Linked DNA regions of Homo sapiens: regions 2, 3 and 4 are each linked to region 1. Evidence: promoter capture Hi-C in 16 types of primary human blood cells and fetal thymus (Javierre and others, 2016). All regions are on one chromosome and are shown on one strand. The core of a region is centred on a gene start or on the middle of the fragment in contact, and the rest is flanking DNA. Distances in the headings are between cores, read along the strand shown.

The links. The method cuts DNA at HindIII sites, captures the fragments that hold promoters and counts their contacts. A CHiCAGO score of 5 or more calls a contact.
Region 2: a fragment that was not itself captured here is called in contact with the fragment with the promoter of SLC43A1 in region 1 in 9 of 17 cell types (erythroblasts, M0 macrophages, activated CD4 T cells and 6 more); the score reaches 15.2 in erythroblasts.
Region 3: a contact is called between the fragment with the promoter of SSRP1 here and the fragment with the promoter of SLC43A1 in region 1, in 15 of 17 cell types (erythroblasts, M1 macrophages, megakaryocytes and 12 more). The highest score is 24.4, in erythroblasts.
Region 4: a fragment that was not itself captured here is called in contact with the fragment with the promoter of SLC43A1 in region 1 in 6 of 17 cell types (activated CD4 T cells, M2 macrophages, M1 macrophages and 3 more); the score reaches 7.2 in activated CD4 T cells.

Annotation. Positions count from the first base shown.
Region 1 is chr11:57,513,652-57,516,951 of GRCh38, forward strand. It overlaps SLC43A1 (solute carrier family 43 member 1), which reads right to left and starts at 2,051. Exons shown (of 15, transcript NM_003627.6): 1 at 1,793-2,051; 2 at 307-473. The coding sequence starts at 460. RefSeq lists an enhancer at 2,205-2,274. The HindIII fragment of the contact is 5,778 bases long and covers 1-3,300 here.
Region 2 is chr11:57,353,584-57,356,584 of GRCh38, forward strand. All of the region lies in intron 8 of P2RX3 (purinergic receptor P2X 3), which reads left to right. Among named protein-coding and RNA genes, the nearest start is that of P2RX3, 17 kb to the left of the region's middle. The HindIII fragment of the contact is 5,121 bases long and covers 1-3,001 here.
Region 3 is chr11:57,333,866-57,337,227 of GRCh38, forward strand. SSRP1 (structure specific recognition protein 1) reads right to left here and starts at 2,027. Exons shown (of 17, transcript NM_003146.3): 1 at 1,865-2,027; 2 at 1,203-1,375; 3 at 598-783. The coding sequence starts at 1,256. It also overlaps a transcript of P2RX3 not described here. RefSeq lists enhancers at 1,196-1,265, 2,116-2,165 and a silencer at 1,766-1,945. The HindIII fragment of the contact is 4,158 bases long and covers 1,965-3,362 here.
Region 4 is chr11:57,374,496-57,377,536 of GRCh38, forward strand. It overlaps PRG3 (proteoglycan 3, pro eosinophil major basic protein 2), which reads right to left. Exons shown (of 6, transcript NM_006093.4): 6 at 2,274-2,413. The coding sequence ends at 2,355. Among named protein-coding and RNA genes, the nearest start is that of PRG3, 5.1 kb to the right of the region's middle. The HindIII fragment of the contact is 5,955 bases long and covers 1-3,041 here.

The sequences.
Region 1 (3,300 bases), core at 801-3,300:
CTCCCAGCACGTCTCCTTCAAAGAGCTCTAGACCTGAGGCTGTCAGAGGCTTAGGACTCTGCCTATTAGTCCCAGGGTCTGGATGACCAGCAGGACACCTGGCATTCAGTGACCACTGGATTAGATAAATGAAACAGTGGGCAGAGTGCCACCCAATCTCCCCCTGAAGTTTGAAGAGGTCGAGAAGTGAGGCTGTCCAACTGCTGACCCTGCTTTCTGTCCACCTGGCCACCTAACCTTTTCTGGCTTCCACCTGCCCCTTTGCCATCCCTCCCCCCAGCCCACCCAGCCCATTTTCAGGCATACCTGGGCACGTGCTGGAATAGAAGCCCTCGTTCTTCAGAATGATCAACAGGGAGCCCCAGCCCAGGAGTACAGCAGAGAAGAAGAGGTTCTCCAGCACAGCCGTGCAGGCCATCCACCAGCGCCTCCGGTACGCCTGTTGCAGCGTGGGGGCCATGCTGGCCCCGAGCCTGCACAGAAACAGAGCGCTGGGTGAAGGGCCCCCCAGTGGCCCCAGGGAAGGGTCCTGCATCATGGTGGCACCCGAGACCTCTCGGGCCAGCCCGCGAGGAGCCCCTCATGGAGGCCCCATAGAGCCCTGGGCTTCCCAGCCGGTGCCAAGGAGCTGGCTCCGCGCGCACTAGCAGTGCCAGAGGTGCACGCGGCACGGGGCTCCCGCTGAGCCACTATCGGAAACAAGGAAGGTCCTGTCTGCGCGCTGCAGCTTCCTAGCAGGCTGCCGGGTTCTCTCACCCAGGCCAGGGCGCTCAGGGCCGGGCTGCTGGGGAGAAAGTCCGCATCTGCCCAGGTCCCCAGAGGACAGCAAGGGGCAGAGCGCGCTCTGAAGCACCGCGGGCCCATGTCCGGACTCTCGCGCCAGGAAAGACCCCTAGAAGCTGGCAGGAAGAAGGGCAAGTTCAAGGCTACCCTACGACCCCATCTTCCAGTTGCCCCTCCAAGACCTCTCCTTCCCTCTGGGGCCGGGCGACAGCAAGCCCTCCCCCTTTCCGTATCAGGTGACCCACGACCCTACAGTCTCTCGGGCCAAGCCAACAGCTGCCACGTGGAGGGAGACCCAGGACGGGCTCTCCTCGGTTCCCTCCTCCCCCGCGCGCCCCTCACTCACTCCGCAGGGCTCGGGGCACCAGGCTTTGCACCTCGGAACCCGCTTGCCCCCCTCCAGCCCCGGGAGGGGGCTCGGACTTCGGCAGGAAGTCTGGCGGCTGCTGACTTTATAAGGGCAGCGGTGGCGGATGGGCTGGCGGGCGGGTGTGTTTACCAAAGGGAGGGAAAGAGCCCCAGCTCCCCCCGCCGCGGCCGCTGCAGCCTCGGCGGGAGGAGAGGGAACGCGGGCGGCGCGGGGGCGGGGAGCGACAACTGGGATGAGACCGAGGAAAGCGGAGAGGAGAAGGGCAAGAAAGACCCAGAGAGAGGGGAGGAAGTACCAGTCACTTCTTCCAGGGGGACTCGGTATTCTCATCTGTGAAACGGGGCTTTGGGTTCAAGCGCTCCAGGAGGTCCGCTGGAACTCTGGCAAACGCGCAGCTCTAAGCAGAGGAAGTGCAGCGAGCGGGGACCCGGGAGGAAGAGAAGAGTCGGAGGGGTCAGAGAAAAGAAAAGGGAAGGACGCGCTTGGCGAGATGGGACACTGTGCCGCGGGACCGCGGGCGCAAGTAACGGTCTTTCCTTGGGAAGCCTGGCAGTGTCGGCGGGAGCCGGCCTCGGTGTCTCTCAGCCGACGCATAGCCGGAGACCCTACGCGCGCCCCCTCCCCGCCCACGCTGCTCACCTCCGGTCACCGGCAAATGAGCAGCCAGCAGCTGCGGACGCCTCCGGGAGCGCAACGCTTTCGCGGCGCGTCCGGAGTCCCGTGGGCCCAGCCCTGAGCCGCGCCGGCGCTGGGGTCTTCTCTGCGTGCAGGACCCGGCGGCCACGGAGCTTCAGCCTGACAGCCCGGTGGCCTCGCCTCCGCTGTCTCCTCGGAAGAAGCGGGGGAACTGGGAACCCGCCGGGCGCCAGAGGTCTGCGAAGCTGGGCTTGGATGAAGTGGATCTGCGGAGTTGATAGTTGTATTTACACGCGTCCGGAGCTGCGCCCCGAGGTGGGGGCGGGGGCTCCCTTCTTTTCCCCTCCCCTTAGGTCGAGTTTCACGCGCACGTGACTCGCCCGCTGGTCCCGGACACTCTCCCTCTGGCACAGCCCCAGCACCTACATTTCCACCCTGGACCCCCATCTTCTCCCCCAAGCCCCCAGACTAACATCAGGCAGCGCCCTCTGTATCCTTGTTCAAAACAAAGTGCGATTCGGCTGAAGCCGACTGACCGCGATTCAGGGCCGCCTTGGGTGGGGTTTTGAACTGTGCAGCTGGAAGCAGTGTTTTCCGAGAGGCAGAGTGGCACGGGTTTCTTTGGAGTTAGTCAGATCGAGGTCTGAGTCTTGACTTTTTAACTGACTACCCTGGGTTACCTAGGGCAAGTTACCTCTCTGAGCCTCAGCTTCCTCCTCTTTAAATTCGGTTAAAATGGAACCTACCTAACTGCCCAAAGGAATCGCGATTGTGATGCAGGTAAAATGCTAAGCATAGCATTTGGCATAGTAAGCATAATGTTAATTGTTGCTGCTGTCATTATTTCAGAAGACCTGGTGATCGGATGCTTCCAGATCAACAATTGATTGACTCCAGGTAAATCTCTCAGCCTCCCTGAGCCTCAGTATCCTCATCTGTAAAATAGACTACTATGGTGTGGAGTAATGAGAAGTAATCTCATTACATGTGAGTTTAATTGTGTGTTAAGAGTGCTGCTAATGCATGCTGAGCTTAATACCTAGGTGATGGGTTGATAGGTGCAATAAACCACCACGGCATACATTTACCTACGTAACAAACCTGCACATTCTGCACATGTACCCCAGAACTTAAAATAAAAATAAAATTTTTTTAAAAAAAGAGTGATACTGGTGGCCAGGTGTGGTGGTTCATGCCTGTAATCCCAGAACTTTGGGAGGCCAAGGCAGGAGGATCGCTTGAGCTCAGGAGTTCGAGACCAACCTGGACAACATGGTGAAACCCCGTCTCTACAAAAAAGAAAAAAAAATAGCCAGGCATGGTGGTGTGCACCTGCAGTCTCAGCTACCCAGCAGGCTGAAGTGGGAGGATCACTGAGCTGGAGAGATGGAGGCTGCAGTGAGCCAAGATCATGCCACTACACTCCAGCCTGGGTGACAGAGTAAGACTCTGTCTCAAAAACAAAACAAGAATGACTACAGAAAGCTCCAAGAAGGCCTCAGATAAAAGGG
Region 2 (3,001 bases), core at 490-2,989, 160 kb before region 1:
GATTTCAAGACTAGCAGATGCTGGCAGCACAATTCATAGCCCGGCCTTTTGTCTCCCAAACAATTCATTTGCTGCTCCCTCCAACAGAGGCAGATTTTTCAACACCCCTACTGTTGCCATTTGCTCTGGAGGGAATGGAATTATTCAGCCAAGATTCGGCCGTGTTTGAATCTGCTAACTAAGACATCCAGAGGCAGCTAGAGATTCACATTTCCATCACTAATTACATTCGCAGCTCCCTTCCAAATGTCACTCCCCCCCCCCCGCCCCTATTTTTTGTAGCTCTTTGCCTGCAGAATCAGAGATTTTGAGAATTTATAGCTGTTGAAGTTCCCCTTGCAGTCACCCAGAGTAAGGCGGTCACTTTACAGATGAGGAAGCGGAAGTTCCAAAGGGGGCATCTTAGAGTAGCCTCAAAGGTCATTGGATCTCAACTCCTAATGTGACCCTTGTGATTTAAAGGAGTTTACGGACCCATGTAAGAGATTACAGGCCCATGTAATCACCCTGACACTGGGGGATATCTGATCTCCGTGGCAAGCAAAGTGGCCTGCTCCATTCATTGGAAAGGTGACCTCAAATTGAGCCAAAATGTGCCTCCCTTTAAATCCTCTCCAGTGTACTTGGTGCTGTCCATGCAAGTTAATCTTTATTTTTGTGATCCCCTAAAGATTCTGTTCTTCCCCTACCTGAAATTTAGTGGAGACATTTTATTTTTACTCCTTGGTCTGTTCTGCGTGGCTAAAGACTCCGTGGGCCGCTTTAACTTAGTATTTTTATGAAGCCTCTTTCTAAGCACACTGAGATTGCAGTTGGTGGGGTCATCTGGATTTCTAGCAGACAAAATGCAGCAATTTCTAAAAATAAGAACTGTTGAGAGTCACCAGTTCAGTGCTGCACAAGTGAAAGGCGCCCTCAGCAGAGCCCTGCAGTTCTTCAGGAGGCTCTCTTCTCTGTTGGCAAGGTTTCTGAGGCCCAGGTAGACCCTCAATTCACAGGAGCAGGATTTTAACAAGAGTACTATATTTCCCAAAGTCCTGGGAACAGGTGATGTTGTGTGTGTGTGTGAGTGTGTGTGCACATGCGAGTTCGTGAGAGTGGGTGTATTTGTTAGTGGGTGAATGTGTGAGGCTGAGAGTGAGTGTGTCAGTGTGTGTGTGTGTGCGTGAGTGTATAGGCATTGATGGTGCAATGACAGATTAAAAATACTGTATCCGTCAGGGTCCCCGCAGGAAACAGATGGCACATTCTAACTGGGTAATCTGAGGAGAGTTTAATAAAGGGACTGTTTCAAAGGTGTGGGCAGGGTGTACGGAAACCACACAGATAGTGCAGTGCCAGGGCCAGAAACAGGACACTGGTTACCACCCAGGTCTGAAGAGGCGAGGAGAGGAAGCAGTGACAGGAACATGGAGACGGACAGAGCTGTGAGCAGAGGACAGCCTGACATGTGGCTGTGACTCAGGAGAGCCCCACCAGAAGCCAGAGCTGAGGCAAAGTGGCCCACTGAGGCAGCCCAGGGCAGGGCGAGGAAGGGAGGAGCACGGACCTGAGGGGCACCTGCAGAGATGTCCAGGACAAGTCCTGACAACTTTCATCTGTGAAATTACAGCCCTTCCTTAACTTTCAGAGGTCTCTAACTGCTTTATGCCCCCGATGAAAATGGGGACCATTGTCCAAGGAAGATGCATGTATTCATAGACATGAGAAAATTCACAGGCAAGTTCTCTTCTTAAAGGATATTTTATTTCTTTTTTTTTTTTTTTTTTTTTGAGACAGAGTTTTGCTCTGTTGCCCAGGCTGGAATGCAGTAGTGCAGTAGTCTCGGCTCACTGCAACCTCTACCTCCCGGGTTGATGCAATTCCCCTGCCTCAGCCTCCCCAGTAGCTGGGATTACAGGTGCCCGCCACCACGCCCAGCTAATTTTTGTATTTTTAGTAGAGACGGGATTTCAACATGTTGGCCAGGCTGGTCTCGAACTCCTAACTTCAAGTAATCCACCCACCTTGGTCTCCCAAAGTGCTGGGATTATACGCGTGAGCTACCACGCCTAGCCAGGTTATTTCATTTCTACAAATAAGATACAAATACATTCTCAGAGTAATAAATCCAACCAATACTGATATATACAAAGTAATGACATGGGAAGTCCCCTTCATTCCCCCAGGCCTGCACCCTTTGCAGGGAATTAACATCTGGGACGGTTTAATGAGTTTCTTTCCAGTTCTTATTCTATGCATTTATATTTATGCAGCATAAAATTCCAAGACTTTGAGGCCCTCTAAAAGCCTATCCCGTAGCCAGGTGTGGAAGCTCCTGCCTGTAATCCCAGCACTTTGGGAGGCTGAGGCGGGAGGATCCCTTGAAGCCAGGAGTTTGAGACCAGCCTGGGCAGCAATAGCAAGACTCCTTCTCTACAAAAATAAGATTAAAAATTCTAAAAAATAAATAATAAATGAAAGCCTATCCCTGCACCTCAGATTAAGAGCCCTAGAGTTAAGTTTGCAAAGCCCTTTCACACCTATTTTTGACAGATCACAGCTCACCATCTTCCCCCACCCCCAAGGTAGGCTCAGAAAGATTTCAAAACTTGCCTGAGATTATACAGCCTAATTAAGAGGCACATCAGGACTCAAACCCAGGGATTTGATCTATATCCATTGCTTCCAGCATGCCTTGCGCCATCACATGGCCTGCAAAAAAGGGGAAAAAAAAATAGCTCTAAGAGATATACCTGGTAGTGATGGCTGGTGTGATTGACGGGAGAGAATCGAAACTGCATTTCAAAATGCCTGATTTCTTGTTTCTCCTCTGAGAGTTCCTAAGACAGCTTTGCTACTAAAAGGCAACGCAGTTTTGGATTTCCTCTTTTGGTGTCTGGGACAAAAAAACATTTGTTCAGCTGCTAGATGTTCCTGGTGCGGTAGGTGTTTCTAGTGATCGTTTTATGTTGGAAATGTACCCACAGCAGCTTTCATGAAGCTCGGAGATTTGGCGCCT
Region 3 (3,362 bases), core at 777-3,276, 180 kb before region 1:
AGCTAGCCAGGCGCAATGGCTCACGCCTGTAATCTCAACCCTTTGGGAGGCCAAGGTGGGCGATCCCTTGAGTCTGAGAGCTCAAGACCAGACTGGGTAATGTGGCAAAACGCCGTTTCTACCAAAAATTATTAAAAATCAGCTGGGCATGGTGGCATGTGCCTGTGGTACCAGATACTCAGGAGGCTGAGATGGAAGGATTACTTGAGCCCAGGAGGCGGAGGCTGCAGTAATCCGAGATTGCGCCACTGCACTCCAGCCTGGGTGACAGAGCAAGGCCCTGTCCCCAAAAAAAACCAAAAACACACATACACACAAAGAAATCAAGCTAAGATTCTGAACCTTGATAAAAGCCACAGGCAGAAACTACTATCTAAATCAAGACAGAAGAAAATCTTCTGGAGTCAAGGCACACAGAAATTCACAAGACTTCAACGCTCAAAGCCAAACACTGATTGCCTGATGGCCTCACAGCCCTGCTCTAAGGAGCCCAAACTAGCAATCACAGGGTTACATGAGGAAGGAACCTCGAGTCTCTAGAAGATTAAAATAAGAAGATGCAGTAAAAAGGAGGCTTATAGCCATGGGACATCTCACCGATTCTCGGAAGCCATCATACTTGTAGACATGGCCATTCTTTGTAAGCAGTTTAAGTCCATGGCCCAGAGCAACACGGCGCCAGATACCTTCTGTTAACTCCCCAGCCTGGATGTTGTCCACTTTGCCTGTCTTGCTATTCTTGAAGATGATGCCCTGACGGCTCAACCTCAGTCGACCATCATTCTGTAAGAAAAGCAGGCCCAGATGCATGGAGACAGTACACAGCATGTCCTGGGTTCTACAGCTCTACCTAACACACATTCCTGCTGCAAGTGGACTGGCCAGATTATCAATGCAGGAGCAACAGCTGAGGGTGCCAAGGAGTCTAGATTCTAAACCAGACTCTGGTATCTAGAACCCTTAACAGATTCTCAGTTTCCTCATTTGTAAAACAGGAATTGGGAACTGAACAGCATATACGGTCCCTATAACTCTGAGACTATCTCTCAGTATTGCCTTGAGTTGGTGGAGACACTAGGTACACATTATACTGAGTCTTCTTTTTCCAAAATAACGTTACCAAAGCAAGCTCTCATTAATGGACAAAAACTCTACCCTCCTTCCTTCTCTCTACTTGTATCACCTGTCCAAGCCATTCTCACCATGGAACCTTTCACCTCCTGATAGACGTCGTTGAACTCCAGTGTCTCTGCCATGTCGACCCCTGCCTGTGGTGGCCTGGGCAGAGCCCCAGGCTGCACAAGGGAAACCAAGTAAACTGGGAGCTGGGCCCCAACTCCTGAGTGGGTGTGCGGATGCTCAGCAGGTTGGGAATCTGAATTCAAGAGGAAGACAGATAAGCATGAAAGACAGCACCTCGCTGTGCTCACGGATGGAGCCAGGTAGCAACTCCCAGCTGCGCCTGGATGTCTCAGGATTTCCTCTGCCTGGAAACCTACAGACGGACGCTGCAGTGCCCGAGGGTCCAGGTCCAGGCCTGGGTGGAGAACCGGGCCCGGAATACCGCTGACACCCAACCCGACGCCCGCTCTGGCCGCTCCGGCGGGAGCCATGGCAACGAGCAGCGGAACCCCAGGGTCTGCCAGGAGCCCGCACATCGCACGCGACCCAATCCAGCTCAGAGTGCAGGGTTTCCCTCGCACCGCTCCCACCACCCCGCGGCCCCAGACCCACGGTTCACCCCCGCCCCACATAATGGATTCGCCCGCTCCCCGCGGTTGCGAACGCGGAATGGTCCATGTCGAGGGTCCCGTGGGGGAGCGGGGCCCCTGCCTTCCTGGGACCGGGGACGACCACCACCTACCTCCTCAGGCTGCGGCCTCGCGAGGGCCCCGGCGCGAGAGGTGGGCGCGCTGGGGGGACGCGGGGGGGGCGCGGGGAGGGGGATGGGGGGACACCGGGGAAGCTTTTCCCGCGTGCGCGGCCCCGCGTCCCGCCACCGGAAGCCGTACACAGGCCACAGAGAGGATGAGCTGGCTAGAGAGACGCGAGTCGGGCCCGCCTGCGAGACAGTCGCATAGAGCGTCAGCGACTCTGGAGGACCTGAGGGAAGGGTGGTTGCCGTGAAGCCTCTCTCACCCAGGGGGAATCCGGCCTAGAAAATGTGTGTAGGGCTCTTTAGAAACTACAGACACTTCTTCAGTCGAGACTAGATACTAAAGAGAAATTGTGTAGTTTTATTGTATCAGACTTAGTACAGGGGTGGGGTGGGGGTGTGTATTGGAATGATGCGTGCCCGTTTCTCTGCAAAATAGTTTCTATGTCATGGAAAGGAGTCGATGGGACAAGAAGAGAAGTATTTGAACAGTTGTGGGAGGAAACGACCTCTCCCACTGGCTGCGGAGAGTATGCGGGTGTTGGTGTCATCGTGGGTGCACTGCTTTCTGGCTGAACTGTCAAGTTCACTGTCTACACCCAAAATTTTCACATCCTTAACCGAAAATTATAGGTACCTCCAAGAGGCTGGCAAACGGCCTTATCCAGTTCAAGTCCTGGTGTCAGATTCACCTTGGAGCCAGAACTGATTTGAAACCACATCATCCTGTGGTTGCGGAAGCCAGGTCTCCCCCGTATAATCCCAGAGTGCATTTTGCAACATCAGAGACCAGACCTGGAAAAGATGTTTTAGTTTTTCTACCCCAACCTCCTTTTACTGATGGGAAAACTGAGACCCAAAGGGGAGTGAGTTGCCCAGGGTCTCAGTGCGTTGGCAACAAGGCTAGGTAGGACCCAGACCTCCTTAACACCACCAGTCCAGTTATCTTCTGTCATAATCACAGTGACTGTATGTTCAGAATGACTATTGATATGTGTCCTACATGAAGACATTAGTACAGAATATGTAAGCTCAAGATTTCCCTGACAATCAATACACCAGCTTGCTAAATCAATCCTGGGGTAAGAGACAACAGGAATGCACCCTTCTCCCCTGAACTCATAGCTTTAACCTCTGAGTAGTGGCTATTCCAGCATTATCTAGCAAAATAAATTCAACTGGGTTTAATAAATAGATATTGAGGGCCTATTACTACTTTAGCACACTTCTCAGATTTGAGGAAACTTGAACAAGGTGAAAACATCCCCGGCCAGGCACGGTGGCTCACACCTGTAATCCTAGCACTTGGGGAGGCCAAGGCAGGGAGATCACTTGAGGTCAGGAGTTTGAGACCAGACTGGCCAACGTGGTGAAGCCCCGTCTCTATTAAAAATACAAAAATTAGCCAGGCGTGGTGGCGGGTGCCTATAATCCCAGCTACTCAGGAGGCTGAGGCATGAGAATTGCTTGAACCCAGGAGGCAGAG
Region 4 (3,041 bases), core at 411-2,910, 140 kb before region 1:
ATAATCTGAACAACAAATAAACCGCCGTGACATGAGTTTACCTGTGTAACAAACCTGCACATGTACCCATGAACCTAAAATAAAAGTTAAAAAAAAAAAAAAAGAAGGGACTATTGTAGTGTGTAGTGTGTGGATCTGTGTGGGGCCCTAATCCCAGGTAGCTCCCCTTCCATGCCCTTTGGGAGAAGGACCACTTGACATGCTGTGATTAGGAGCTGCCTGACCCAATTTCCATCCATGGCAGTTGGACAGACCCCTCTACTGAGGACAGGCCTTTTCATGTAGAGACAGTCCCTGGGGCCCAGCATGGGTAAAGTCCCTGGCAATGACAGCACCCATTCTCCTGCTGCCAGAGGCCTGCCCATGTTGAAGGGCCTCATCTCTCTGCTTTCTCCATCACCCACTTTCCCCAGGGCTCTCTGATCCTGTCCCCTCAACTTTAGCACCCTTAGAAACACAGCACATCTGGGAAAAGTTCTTTTCGCTCCTGAAACCACATCCCATCAGATGCTGGTACAGATATACACAAACACACAAACATAGTCCTGTATGCAGTTATGCTCAGACACACACTGAGACATATACCCACCCACATACATACCAGTCAAAGACACAGAGGAAGACACATATGCATACACAGAGAGATTTGGGAACATAAGGCTGCAAAGCTATGGAGACATATGCATTCACAGGTGTACGCAGACAGACATATCCATAAATACACAGAGATATATAAACATATGCATACTCAACATGCAAATTCATACTGACTCACAGATTTATGCACATTTACATATACAAATTCACACATATACAGGTATACACATGTACACAAACACTGACACATGTACACACCAAGATATATACGCACACATGTACATGTGCACACACAGAAATACTTTTGTATTCTCCCTGGGCCCCATGTGGAAACACACTCCCAAGAAGTCTGTCTCTCCCCACTGCCTCCACCCCCTACAATCCAGGGCTCTCTACCGTCTTGATACCCAGTCTCAGTTCTGAGTTTCCTACTTCATCAACTCTACATCCTTCCTGGAGCCCAGTACCTCATCTGTGACAAAGTTAATAGCAACAACAATAATGTCTCTCAATGTCCCCAGGGTCTGAGAAAGTGGGGGACGGAGAGACACAGAGGCCTGGGGCTGCAGAACTGGGAATGGGAACTACCAGACACCCTGGCTTTGTGCCCAGGGCCCTGCTGGGGAGAAGTCGCTCCCTCCTAAGGATGTGGCCCCTCTACAGAGGTAGGCCAGGAGGAAGGAAGGGGAGGACCACCACCCTCCTGGGAATGGATGGGGAACATGCCTCAGAGGAGGCTGGGGACTCACAGAGGTGGCTGGAAATAAAATTGGGGGCCATTACCAGAAGCCAGAAAGGCATAGGGCCAGAGGAGCAGTCTGCCCCAAGACAAGACTGCTTTCTCCCCACTTCCTCGTGTTGTCCCCTAGGTGGGACCTCAGTGTTCCACACCAACTCTTAAAACAGCTCCATCACCTTTATTTTGGAAAGCCACCCCACCCTGCACCGCATACTGAATCCAAACAAAGCAAGAGGACCAGCAAAGCACCCCACACCAACTGAGCTCCCATCCCCCACTCCCCCAGTCCTTACCCATACTCCCAACCCCTCCCTCCATCACACCCAACCCTACTCCCATCCCCACCACCATCTCCACCACTTCTACTCCCACCCCCCACTCCCCAATCCTTACCCATACTCCCAACCCCTCACCTCTATCACACCCATCCCTACTCCCATCCCCCATCTCCCACCCCTAACCCTAATCCCAACCCCTCACCTGCACCACACCCATCCCTACTTCCATCCCCCCATCTCCCACCCCCACCCCTACTCCTAACCCCTCACGTCCCCACTCCCACCCCTACTCCCATCCCCCCACCTCCCACCCCTACCCCTACTTCCAACCCCTCACCTGCACCACACCATCCCTAAACCCATCCCCCCACCCCTACTCCCATCCCCCCACCTCCCACTCCCACCCCTACTCCCAAACCATCTCCACCACCTCTACTCCCACCACCCACACCCCTGTCCCCATCCTCCCAACCCTACCCCACGCCCGGGGAGGCCTTCCGGCCGCCCCAGGTCCCGCTCTGCCGCCCAGCGCCGCCGCCAGCCCCCACCGGGCCGCCCTACTCGGCCATGGCTCACTTTCCCGAGAGTGAATGCTTCCAGGATTTTTCCGAACTGGAGTAATCCCCAAAGTGAGCAATAAAGAAACGAGAGTCAGGAAATGCTGTGGGAAGTCTGGATTTATGAGCAGGAGAGGTTGGGGGACGGGAGGGAGCTGCTGGCAGGGTCTCCGTGCCGCTGGCTTAGAAGGAGCAGACGAAGGGCAGTTGCTTGTCGCATTGAGCTCGTCGCCAATAACCTCCTAGCAGCACAGAGCACAGTGAAGTCCACCGCCCTGCGGGGTCTGGCCTGGGCTTCACCTCTTTCCCTCCTCAGGGGCCCCCTATGTCCCCATCTATGGCCATCGTCATCTGCCAGCTGTGTGCTTGCCCCACATCCCTACTGGCTCACATTTGCTGAGCTCTTACTGCTAGCTAGGCTGTGTGCTAACTGCATTAGATGGACTTAGGTGGACTATTGCATTTAATCCTTACCATGACTCCAAGAGGTGGGTGCTGTCATCATCCCCATTTCACAGATGAGGAAACGGGGGCTTAGTAGAGATAAACAACGTGCCTGTATCTCAGTTGGCAAGTGGCAGCACTGGGATGTGAACTGCAGCAGTCTTGCTCTAGCACATATGGTCTCAGCCACTATACTAAACTCACATCTGGCACCCATGCTGCTGCCCATGTCTGCTGTTGGAGGTGGGCATCTTGTCTCTCAGCCATCCCTAATTCCCCCATCCTTCCTTTTCTCTCATCCACGCCTTATATCCACTTCCGCTACTCTCATTGGTCATACCTGTTGTTCGAATTTATTGCCCTCATATCAAAGGAGGCAAAGAATTTTCCCACACACACACCATCCAGCCCACCCCCCTGTCTCCA